Linked DNA regions of Homo sapiens: region 1 is linked to region 2. The links are contacts of gene promoters, found by promoter capture Hi-C in human tissues and cell types (Jung and others, 2019). All regions are on one chromosome and are shown on one strand. Each heading gives the region's core, a stretch centred on a gene start or on the middle of the fragment in contact. The rest is flanking DNA. Distances are from core to core; before and after follow the strand shown. Region 1 overlaps ARHGEF18 (Rho/Rac guanine nucleotide exchange factor 18). Region 2 holds the start of LRRC8E (leucine rich repeat containing 8 VRAC subunit E).

Evidence for each region. Contacts are between HindIII fragments. The study calls those that stand out against the background at their distance.
Region 1: a contact is called between a fragment that was not itself captured here and the fragment with the promoter of LRRC8E in region 2, in 2 of the 25 tissues and cell types used here (dorsolateral prefrontal cortex and lymphoblastoid cells).

Annotation. Positions count from the first base shown.
Region 1 is chr19:7,357,945-7,364,194 of GRCh38, forward strand. ARHGEF18 (Rho/Rac guanine nucleotide exchange factor 18) reads left to right here. Exons shown (of 29, transcript NM_001367823.1): 2 at 4,837-4,961. The coding sequence starts at 4,947. Among named protein-coding and RNA genes, the nearest start is that of ARHGEF18, 12 kb to the left of the region's middle. The HindIII fragment of the contact is 4,406 bases long and covers 2,411-6,250 here.
Region 2 is chr19:7,884,797-7,891,131 of GRCh38, forward strand. It overlaps LRRC8E (leucine rich repeat containing 8 VRAC subunit E), which reads left to right and starts at 3,714. Exons shown (of 3, transcript NM_025061.6): 1 at 3,714-3,804. It also overlaps the pseudogene RNA5SP463. RefSeq lists enhancers at 3,471-4,169, 5,059-5,559 and a silencer at 3,593-3,722. The HindIII fragment of the contact is 6,573 bases long and covers 2,738-6,335 here.

The DNA of each region.
Region 1 (6,250 bases), core at 3,364-5,863, 530 kb before region 2:
GGCTCTTCTGCCACAATTCTGTCCCTCTTCCTTCTATATGTGCTTCCTCACCCCCTCAGAATGCCATCTCCTGAGTGTAATGCATCGCTGCCTCTGGACACTGCCATATAACCTATCCATCCCACTATCTACCCATTCATCCCTGCAACCATGCAGCCATCCAACTATCTATCCAGCCAACCAGCCAATCAGCCAACTCTTCAACCATCCATCCTTCCATCCATCCATCCATCCATCCATCCAATCAGCCAACTCTTCAACCATCCATCCTTCCATCCATCCATCCATCCATCCATCCACCCATCCACCCATTCTTCCATCCATTCTTCCATCCATCCATCCATCCATCCACTCTTCCATCCATCCAACCATCCATCCATTCAACATCCATTCATCCATCTACCTATCCATCCACCCATCCACTCATACATCCAATTATCTACTCATTCATCCATTCACCTATCCATCCATCTACCTGTCCAACCATTCATCCATCCACCTATCCATCCATCTACCTATCCAACCATTCACCCATCTGTCTATCCACTCATTCATCCATCCATCCATCCTTCTACACATCCACCCATCCATTCAACCATCCACTCACCCATCCATCCATCCATCCATCCAACCATCTATCCATTTATCTACCCATTTATCCAAATATATGGGCACTGACTCTGTGCCCAACCCAACACAGCAGAGGATAGCCTGGTGATTGGGATCTCTTCTTTGAATTCAGAAACATCTGAATTTGACTCCCAGCTCTACCTCATACCAGATTGGTATGGCCTTGGTAAAGTCAGTGCACCTCTCTAAACCTCAGTTTCCCTTTCTATAAAATGAGGACTCAGAGTTGCTGTGAGTATAGAAGAGTGAAAAGTACATGATGGGCTTAGCACTAAGCCAGACATATAGAAAGTGATTGATACAAGATTTTACCTTTTGGAGCTTGGGGATGTAAAAGTGGATCAGATATAGTCACTGCCCTCACAGACCTCATGCTCTAGAGCATGGATCAGCAAACCTTTTCTATAAAGAGCTAGGCAGAGCAATCCAAAGTCCTATGGCTAAAATTGTCTGCAGAGGATCTGAGACAGAGCCCTCAGTTGCCAGGCAGGAAGAGTGGTAGGAACAGCACAGAGATACCAGGAGAATGGTGAGTTGGGTGTGCATGTGTGTGACAGGGAGGTAAGAGGACAGGCTGAGGAGGGCTCTGAATGTCATTCTAAGGGGACTGGAGTCTATAGGGGTGGGGATCAGTAGAAGGGGAGTGACCATCAGAGGGTTATATCAAAAGGACACACCAACTCCAGGACAGAAGATGGACTACAGGGGAGAGACTGGTAGCTGAGGATCAGTGACAAATGTGATTGGCAATCGTTTGGGGCAATTGTGGTTGGTAATTGACAGAGCTCAGTCTATGACACTGGGATTAGGGCTTAGCTCATAATATTGGAATCAGGACACAGCCTATGACATCAGGATTGGAGCTCAGTCTATGATGCCAGATCAAGATTCAGTCTATGACACCAGGATTGGGGCTCAGTCTATGATACCAGGATAAGAGCTAAGACTATGACACCAGGATTAGGGCTTAGCCTATGACACTAGGATCAGGGATCAATATATGACACCAGGATAAAGGCTTAGTCTATGACACTAGGAGGGGGGTTCATTCTATGATACAAGAATGAATGCTCAACCAATGACAGCCAGATGAAGTTCAGTCTGTGATATCAGGATCAAGGCTCAGTATATGACACCAGGATCATGGCTCAGTCTGTGACACAAAGATTGGAGTTCAATCTGTAAAACTAGGATCAGAGTTGAGTCAGTCATTGGGAACTAGGATCACAGTTGAGTTCATCATCAGGTCAAGCTCAACCTGTTCCTCGGTCAGAAGCTTCCCTATAAAAACAAAACTCAGCCAGGCACAGTGGCTCATGCCTGTAATCCCAGCACTTTGGGAGGCCGAGGTGGGAGGATCATATGAGACCAGGAGTTCGAGACTAGCCTAGCCAACATGGTGAAACCCCATTTCAACTAAAAATGCAAAAATTAGCTGGACATGGTGGTACACATCGGTGGTCCCAGCTACTCAGAAGTCTGAGACAGGAGAATCGCTTGTACCCAGGAGGTGGAGACTGCAGTGAGCCAAGATGGAACCACTCCAGCCTGGGTGACAGAGCAAGACTCTCTTGAAACAAAACAACAACAACAACAACAACAACAAAACATGCACAATCACACAACCCTGGCATTTCTTTTCTTTTCTTTTTTCATTCTTTTCCTTTTTTTTTTTCTTTGAGACAGAGTCTCACTCTGTCACCCAGGCTGGAGTGCAATGGCACAATCTCAGTTCACTGCATCCTGCCCTTCCCTGGCTGAAGAGATTCCCATGTGTCAGCCTCCCTAGTAGCTGGAATTATAAGCACATGCCACCATGCCCAGCTAATGTTTGTATTTTCAGTAGAGACTAGGTTTCGCCATGTTGGTCAGGCTGGTCTCAAACTCCTCACCTCAAGTGATCCGCCTTCCTCGGCCTCCCAAAGTGCTGGGATTACATGTGTGAGCCACTGGGCCCGGCCAACCCTGGCCTTTCACCTTTGATCTTTGGATCCCAGACCTTCAGGGTTCACAGATACAGGGCATGAGGTCCTGCAGGCTACAGGAGGCCTCAGGCCTCCACAAGGACCCTGTCCAGTGAAGCAAGCCAACCCTGCAGGCTCTCCTCCAGCCCTAAGGGGACTTGGCTGAGGAATGGGACTGCCTTTCCCCTCCCAAGCTCCCACCAACCTCCAGGACCCTCCCCCACATCTGGCTTTCCTCCTCCTTCACAGCCTGCTTGTTTCGTTTCTGTGAGTCATAGATGCTGCTTCGGCTTCTGGGTGGGGAAGAGAACAGATGCAAAGCTTAACAACAGCAGCTGAACAGAGTCCCTCCAACCAGCCCGGGAGGGCAACCTGGAAAGCAGTGATGGTGGAAACCCTGGCATTGCTCGTTACTGTCCAGCCACTCATCTGTGAATACAGGTGGCATCAGGGGGCAAATTTACCTTGAAGCAATGGAAACTGAAGCTTCAGGCCCCATGTGTACCTGCCCCATCCAAAGCTCTGCAAGAGGCTCCAACAAAAAACTTTTTAGGAACAGCTTTATTGAGCTACCATATACTTCACCCATTTAAAGCATACAATTCAGTGGTTTTAGGCCAGGTGCAATGGCTCATGCCTGTAATCCCAGCACTTTGGGAGGCCAAGGCGGGGGGATTGCCTGAGCTCAGGAGTTCCGGACCAGCCTGGCCAACGTAGCAAGACCCCCGTCTCTACTAAAAATAAAAAAAATTAGCCAGGTGTGGTGGTGCATACGTGTAATCCCAGCTACTCAACAGGCTGAGGCAGGAGAATCACTCAAATCCCGGAGGTGGAGGTTGCAGTGAGCCAAGATGGCGCCACTGCACTCCAGCCTGGGCAACAGAGTGAGGCTCTATCTCAAAAAAGAGACTGCATAACAGCGGTTCCTCAAAAAGCTAAGCATAGATTAGCATGTACTCCAGCAATTCCCTTCCTAGGTAACGACCCAAGACAATGGAAAACACACATCCGTGCAATTGCGTACATCTGTATGCAATTGTTCATGGCAGCGTGATTTGAAATAACCAAATGGTGAAAACGACCCAAATGTCCATCAACAGATCAATGGATACACGAAATGTGGTATCTCCATGCAATTGAATATTATTCAGCCCTAAAACAAATAAAGCACTGGCCGGGCACCGTGGCTCACACCTGTAATCCCTACACTTTGGGAGGCTGAGGCATGCAGATCACCTGAGGTCAGGAGTTCTAGACTAGCCTGGCCAACATGGTGAAACCCCAACTCTATTAATCACACAAAATTAGCCAGGTGCAGTGGTGTGCACCTGTAATCCCAGCTACTCAGGAGGCTGAGGCAGGAGAATGGCTTGAACTCGGGAGGCGGAGGTTGTGGTGAGCTGAGATCACGCCACTGCACTCCAGCTTGGGGGCAACAGAGCAAGACTCTGTGGAAGAAGAAGAAGAAGAAGAAGAAGGAGAAGGAGAAGGAGAAGGAGAAGGAGAAGGAGAAGGAGAAGGAGAAGGAGAAGGAGAAGGAGAAGGAGAAGGAGAAGGAGAAGGAGAAGGAGAAGGAGAAGGAGAAGGAGAAGGAGAAGGAGAAGGAGAAGGAGAAGGAGGAGAAGAAGGAGAAGAAGGAGAAGAAGGAGAAGAAGGAGAAGAAGAAGGAGAAAAGAAGAGGAAGAAGAGGAAGAAGAAGACAAGAAGAGGAAGAGGAAGAAGAAAGGAAGAAGGAAGGAGAAGAAGAGGAGGAGGAAGAAGGAGAAGGAGGAAGAAGAAGGAAGAAGGTGGAGGAGGAGGAGGAAGAGGAGGAGGAGGAAAAACAATGTGGGCATTGGGTACTTGCATTTGGTCTACGGGACCATTAGCATCATTGATCAACTGAGGGCTTTTTCCTAGAGCAGGCATAACAAATTGATTTCATACATAAGCCAACTTGGATCACCTGGTGATGGCTGTTGGAACTGGTGTGTTGGGAAGAATCCTGAGGGGGCAAATGGCTAAGCAGGAAATTGACTCATGATTGACTAGCAATGTCTGCCATAGGCTTGGGATGGGGAAGAGGTGACACGTATGTTGGCTTCAAGATCATTGAGACCATCTTCCCCCTCCCCTCACCAACTCATTTTATAGTTGAGAAAACTGAGGTCCAGGGTGACCAGCAACAGATGCAGAATCCAGGTCCTGGCTTCCTCAGCACTCCCAGCTTATCCCTGACACCTTGTCCCTCCTTTCTCCACAGGCTCTGAGCCCAAGTCATGTGTCCAGCCTTTTGACTCTGGAGCTGTGGCTTCAGCCACCAAGAGCAGCAGTGGATCCTGGAAACCTGAGAACCCAGACTTCTTCTCTGCCATGGGGGATGATCAGGCAGGTGTCTGACTGCTGAAACGGGCAGGAGCTGATGACGACAGTGGCAGCAAGTACACTTTGTTTAGCACCTGCATTTTACCAGGCACTTTGTGTACATTATCTCAGGGAATCCTCATCGAAACTTGCAAAGTCATTTATTATCCTGTTTTACCTATGAGGAAACCAGAATCTGTTCTGAAATAAGAAGAGGGAGGAAAGGAGCAATGGAGGGATGAATGGATGGATGGATAGATGGATGGGTGGGTGGGTGTCTGGATAGATGGATGGATAGATGGAAGGAAAGAGGAAATCAAGGAAAGATGAGTAGAAGGATGGATGGATGGATGGATACGTGGATGAATAGAAGGGTGGCTGGGTGGATGAATGGATGACGGATGACTAGAAGGAAGGGAGGAAAGATGGGTAGAAGTGTGGGTGAATGGATAAATGGATGATGGGTGAATAAAAAGAAGAAAGCTAGATGGATAGATGGATGGACTGATGGAAGGAAGGAGGATGGATGAAGGAAGGAAGGAAAGAAGGAAGTATGGATGGATAGGTAGAAGGATGGGTGGATTAAAGGAAGGAAGGAGAGATGGTTGATGAATGAAAGAGTAGAAAGGTGGGTGAATGGAAGGAAGGAAGAAAGATGAGAAATGTGGGTGGATGGATACATGAATGATTGATGAATAAAATGAAAGATGGAAGGAAGGAAGATGGATGGATGAAAGGAAAGAGGATGGATAAATGAAAGAATGAAGGAAGGATGGATGGATAATGGATGGGTGAGTGGATGGATGAGAAGAAATGTGAGTGGAAGGAAGGAAGGAAGAAAGATGGATGGGTGAAAGGAAGGAAGATGGCTAGATTGATGAAAGGAAGGAGGATGGATAAATGAAAGAATGAAGGAAGGATGGATGGATAATGGGTGGGTGAATGGATGGATGAGAAGAAGGGTGAGTGAAAAGGAAGGAAAAAAGGAAGAAAGGAAGGAAGGGGGATGGATGGATGGGTTGATGGAAGGAAGGAGGATGGATAAATAAAAGAATGAAGGAAGGATAGATAAATAATGGGTGGGTGAATGGATGGATGAGTAGAAGGGTGAGAGGAAGGAAGGAAGGAAGATGGGTGGATGAAAGGAAGGAGGATGGATAAATGAATGAATGAAGGAAAGATGGATGGGTAATGGATGGATGAATGGATGGATGAGAAGAAGAGTGAGTGGAAGGAAGGAAGATGGATAAATAAAAGAATAAAGGAAGGATGGATGGATAACGGATGGGTGAATGGATAGATGAGAAGACGGG
Region 2 (6,335 bases), core at 2,464-4,963:
ACTTTGGGAGGCTGAGGCAGGAGTTCAACACCAGCCTGGCCAGCATGGCAAAACCCTGTCTCTACTAAAAATACAAAAATTAGCCAGGCACAGTGGTGGGCGCCTGTAATCCCAGCCACTCTGGAGGCTGAGTTAGGAAAATTGCTTGAACCCAGGAGGCGAAGGTTGCAGTGAGCCCAGATCGTGCCATTGCACTGCAGCCTGGGCAAGGACTCCATCTCAAAAAAATAAAGAAAGAAAAAGAAGGCCAGGTGCGATGGCTCACGCCTGTAATCCCAGCACTTTGGGAGGCCGAGACAGGCAGATCACCTGAGGTCGGGAGTTCGAGACCAGCCTGACCAACGTGGAGAAACTCCATCTCTACCAAAAATACAAAATTAGCCGAGTGGTGGCGCATGCCTGTAATCCCAGCTACTCGGGAGGCTGAGGCTGGGAATTGCTTGAACCCCGGAGGCGGAGGTTGCGGTGAGCAGCGATCACGCCATTGCACTCCGGCCTGGGCAACAACAGCAAAACTCCATGAAACAAAGAAGGAAAGAAAGAAGAAAGGAAGGAAGGAAAGAAGGAAGGAAGGAAGGAAGGAAGACAGGAAGAGTCACTCCAAAGGAGAGACAACCTTTCTCACAGGTCCCTTCCTCAAAGCGGTCTTCAAGGAACCCCTTGTCCCTTGCTACCGCTTCACCTTGCTTTGTTATATATACAACATTTGTCACAAACTGGCATTACCTTGTTCTTCCGTTTGTCTTTTGTTTTGTTTTGTTTTTAAAAGCCAGGTTCTGAGCTGCCACCCAGGCTGGAGTGCAGTGGTGCAATCATGGCTCACTGTAGCCTCCAACTCCCAGGCTCAAGTGATCCTCCTGTCTCAGCCTCTCAAGTAGCTGGGACCACAGGTGCACACCATCACACCCAGCTCATTTTTATTTACTTATTTATTTATTTTTGAGACGGAGTCTCACTCTGTTGCCCAGGCTGGAGTGCAGTGGTGCAATCTCGGCTCACCACAACCTCCGCCTCCTGGGTTCAATCGATTCTCCTCCCTCAGCCTCCCGAGTAGCTGGGATTACAGGTGCGTGCCACTACGCCTGACTAATTCTTCTATCATTTTTATTTATTTTTTGTAGAGATGGGATCTCACTATGTTGCTCAGGCTGATCTCAGACTCCTGGGCTCAAGCGATCCACCCACCTTGGTCAGCCTCCTAAACTGCTGGGATTTAAGGCGTGAGCCACCCCACCTGGTCTCCTTTATTAGTTTACTTAGTGTATCTCTCCCACCCACTAGGACAGAAGCTCTCAGAGAGTAGAGAGCCTTGCTGGTCTTGTCCTGCAAGGAAGCTGCAGATGCCGACAGACAACAGGTGCTCTTAAAGCTCTACTAAATCCAAAAGGAAGTTTTGTCTTTGGACTCCCTGTGGCGGTGCCCAGAAGGTCCCTGACTTACAAGTTTCCAACCCTAGAGGTTTCCAGTCGCAGGCCCAGACCTGGTCAATGTCAGGGCTTTTTTTTTTTTCTTTTTTCTTTTGAGACGGAGTTTTGCTCTTGTTGCCCAGGCTGGAGGGCAGTGGCACGATCTCGGCTCACGGCAACATCCGCCTCCTGGGTTCAAGCGATTCTCCTGCCTCAGCCTCCCAAGTAGCTGGGATTACAGGCTTGTGCCACCACACCCAGCTAATGTTTTGTATTTTTAGTAGAGATGGGGTTTCACCATGTTGGCCAGGCTGGACTCGAACTCCTGACCTCAGGTGAATCACCCGAGTCGGCCTCCCAAAGTGCTGAGATTCTAGGCATGAGCCACCGCGCCCGGCCAAGTCAAGGCTTCTTTTACCCTGTCAGGGAGAACTCTCCGTCTCCCATCCTAAGTCCAGGTAGGAACATTTCCATGGATGGTTTGGTTTTGTTTTGTTTTGTTTTGAGATGGAATCCTGTTCTGTCGCCCAGGCTGGAGTGGGGTGGTGCAATCTCAGTTCACTGTAACCTCCACCTCCCAGGCTCAAGCGATTCTCTTGTCTCAGCCTCCCAAGTAGCACAAGCCACCACACCCAGCTAATTTTTGTATTTTTAGTAGAGACAGGGTTTCACCATGTTGGCCAGGCTGGTCTCAAACGCCTGACCTCAGGTGATCCACCCTCCTCAGCCTCCGAAAGTGCTAGATTACAGGTGTAAGCCACTGTGACCAGCCCAAGCCTACAGCACCCGGTATTCCTAGGTGGTCTCCCATCCAAGTACTAACCAGGTCCGACACTGCTTAGCTTGCGAGGTGAGACGAGGATCAGATGCTTTTAGGGTGGTATGGCCATAGATACATCCAAGGTTTTTCTTTTCTTTTCTTTTTTTATCTTTTTTTTTTTTTTTTTTTTTGAGATGGAGTCTCACTCTTCGCCCAGGCTGGAGTGCAGTGGCGCAATCTCGGCTCACTGCAAGCTCTGCCTCCTGGGTTCACGCCATTCTCCTGCCTCAGCCTCCTGAGTAGCTGGGACTACAGGCGCCCGCCACCACGCCCTGCTAATTTTTTTGTATTTTTGTAGAGACTGTGTTTCACTGTGTTAGCCACGATGGTCTCGATCTCCTGACCTCGTGATCCACCCGCCTCAGCCTCCCAAAGAGCTGGGATTACAGGCGTGAGCCACTGCACCCGGCCTCCAAGGTTTTTCAGACGGAGAACAGATCAAGGTCCACCTCCACAGATTTGCTCATCTAAGACCCAGCTCAGGCCTCCCAAGTGGGGCGGCCAGGGTGGGGGTGGGGAGGCAGAGAAGCTGGGCCCCCCAGGACTTCGGAGCTGCTTGTGCCCCACTCCCCACCTGGAGGGCAGACCACAGTGTTGGGCAGGGACAGACAGGAGGGCATCCCCACTCTACTCAACTTCCGTTGGTTCAGCCCAGTTCCCGCCCATGGCCAGAGCTTGAAGGGAGAAGCCGTCCCCTCCCCGTCCTCTCCTCCCGCAACTCCACTCCCAGCACCTGAAAACTGCAGTCACCTGTGCCTTGGCTGGGCTTTAAGGCCAGGTGACTGGGCCTTGCGGGGTTAGAAGGAGCCCTTCCGCACTTCCTCTTTTTCTTTTTTTTCTTTTGGAGACAGGGTCCTTCTTGGTGGCCCAGGCTGGAGTGCAGTGGCATGATCGTAGCTCGCTGCAGCCTCTCAACTTCCCAGATTCAGGTGATCCTTCCACCTCGGCCTCCAGAGTAGCTGGGACTACAGGCACACACCACCACACCTGGCTAATTTTTAAAATTTTGTTTTTGTAGGTTTTAAAATTTTTTGTAGAGATGTGGTCCCACTATATTGCTCAGGCTGGTTTCAAACTCCTAGGCCCAAGGTATCCTCCTGCCTCGGCCTCCCAAAGTGTTGGATTACAGGCGTGAGTCACAGAGCCCGGCCTCCACATTTTCTCGACAGGGTCCGTAAGACCTGGTTCCCAGAAAGGTGGCCGTAGAATGGCTTTGGGAGTTCAGCGTCCCCAGCTCCCTCAGTTTCCCCAGCTGCCAGGGTCCAGCCAGACTGCAAAGTTGCAAAGTTCTAAGACCCCTGCATCTCCCGCCAGCCCCGAGCCCACCAGGGCAAAGCAGCCTAAGACGGCTGTCTTCCCCCAACCCTGCTGATCGCGCGGCGCCTGGAGTAGGGTCGACCTGGGCGCGCCTGCGGCGAGGCGGGGCCGAGTCGTCCGGGGGCGGGGCGGGGCGGCTCCGGGTCTCCTGTCCCCGCCTGCCCTGACTCACCCTCGCGGCCCGCCCGGGAACTCTGCGGGAGTCGCGGCAGCTCCGCTCCCAGAGACCCAGGAGTTGGGCCCAGCGTCCCTCCCGGAACGGTGAGTAGGTGGCTCTTTGCCTCTGGACACCCCACGAGGTGGCAGGGTGGGGGTCGGGCTGGGAGTCCCCGGGTCTGGACAAGGGGCAGAGCCGCTCCAGGTGCGCCGGCCCTGTGGCCGGGGCAGGCCGTCCCGACACACCAGGAGCTGGGGTGGGGGTGCCGGCCGGTGCAAAGGGAAACCTGGCCCACGAGGTGCCCGTCCTGGGAGCCAGGCAGACGCGGCCAAGTCTCAGAGTGAAGATAAACAGGCTGAAGATAAACTTGACTTTGGGGGTCTCAACCACTTTCCCCTCCCCTTGGCATCTGGGAAGACATTGACAACTCATCCCCGGGAGACTCTCAGAGCTCCAGAACCTACCACTTGGGGTGGGTTCAACCAAGCCTGACCTCTGGTGCTCTTGAACTTACACATGTCCCAGATCTTCAAGTCTGCTGGCAGAGGCGGCTTGGAAAACCACTCGGCTGGGAATCCGCAGGCCTGGGGCCTGACCCAGGACGGGCTACAAAGATGCCACCCTCCCCCACCCTAGACCCTCAGTTTCTCCCTTGCATAAATGGTTGAGGCTCAGCCGGACACCGTGCCTTACGTCTATAATCCCAGCACTTTGGGAGGCCGAGGTGGGCAGGTCACCTGAGGTCAGGTGTTTGAGACCAGCCTGGCTAACACGGTGAAACCCCATCTCTACTAAAAATACAAAAATTAGTGGCGTGTCCCTGTAGTCCCAGCTACTGGGGAGGCTGAGGCTTGAGTACTGCTCGGACCCAAGAGGTGGAGGTTGCAGTGAGTTGAGATTGGGCCACTGCACTCCAGCCTGGGCAACAGAGCGACACTCCATCTCAAAAAAAAAAAAAGATTGAGGCCAGGCACAGTGGCTCACACCTGTAATCCCAGCACTTTGGGAGGCTGAGGTGGGAGGATTGCTTGGACTCAGAAGTTCAAGACCAGCCTGGGCAACATAGCGAGACTCCATCTCTACAAAAAATCTAAAAGTTGGCTGGGCATGGTAGCACGCACCTGTGGTCCCAGCTACTGGGGAGGCTGAGGCAGGAGGATCACTTGAGCCCAGGAGTTCGAGACTACTATGAGCTATGATCGTGCCACTGAACTCCAGCCTGGGTGACAGAGCAAGACTCTATCTCTCTCTCTCTCTCTTTTTTTTTTTTTCAAGATAGAGTCTTGCTCTGTTGCCAGGCCGGAGCGCAGTGGCACGATCTTGGCTCACGGCAACCTCCACCTCCCAGGTTCAAGCGATTCTCCTGCCTCAGCCTCCTGAGTAGCTGGGACTACAAGCATGTGGCACCATACCCAGCTAATCTTTGTATTTTTAGAGATGGGGTTTCATCATGTTGGCCAGGATGGTCTTGATCTCTTGACCTCGTGATCCACCTGCCTCAACCTCTCAAAGTGCTGGGATTACAGGCGTGATCCACTGTGTCCGTCAGGACTCTATGTCTAAAAAAAAAAAAAGGTTGGGCCTTGTTTTCTACAAAACCCCTCTTAGGGCTGAAAACTGCTGGATGTTTCTTGCTTCTTCCCTGCCTCTTAGCATGGGCTGTGGGTGTGGAGGGTCTCACTCTCCCACCCTTCCCCCAGCAGGAACTCATCACCACATTTTTTGGAGGCAAGTGGCTTGAGGAGGACCTGGGAGGGAGGAGGGGTGAGGCATGGGTGGATGGAGCCAGGGCTGGTGGGAGCCACATGGTCTCAGGCTGGAAAGCCTTCCAGCCTGGCCTGCCACAATGCAACACCGCTCTTAGGTGCTTTTGGCAAAGATGCTGTGGTTTTTTTGTTGTTGTTTGTTTTTTGAGATAGAGTCTTGCTCTGTTGCCCAGGCTGGATTGCAGTGGCGCAATCACGGCTCACTGCAACTTCCACCTCCTGGGTTCAAGAGATTCTCCTGCTTCAGCCGGGCACGGTGGCGCACGCCTGTAATCCCAGCTCTTTGGGAGGCCGAGGCAGGCAGATCATGAGATCAGGAGATTGAGACCATCCTGGCTAATACAGTGAAACCCCGTCTCTACTAAAATTACAAAAAATTAGCCGGGCGAGGTGGCGGGCGCCTGTAGTCCCAGCTACTCGGGAGGCTGAAGCAGGAGAATGGTGTGAACCCGGGAGGCGGAGCTTGCAGTGAGCCGAGATCACACCACTGCACTCCAGCCTGGGCGACAGAGTGAGACTCTGTCTCAAAAAAAAAAGAGATTCTCCTGCTTCAGCTTCCCCATTAGCTGGGATTATAGGTGCCCACCACCACTCCAGCTAATTTTGTATTTTTAGTAGACATGGGGTTTTACCATGTTGGGCTAGCCTGGTCTCAAACTCCTGACCTCAAATGATCTGCCTACCTTGGCCTCCCAAAGTGTTGGGATTACAGGCGTGAGCCACCGTGCCTGGCAAGATGCTGCATTTTAATTAGAGGCTGTCTCCCAAGAGGGAACAGAGCAGTTGCAATCCTACAGGCAGGACCTGGAGGTTGGATGGGTCAGGCTTCGAATGCCGCTTGGAACTGTAGAAGCTTGAGCAAGTTATTT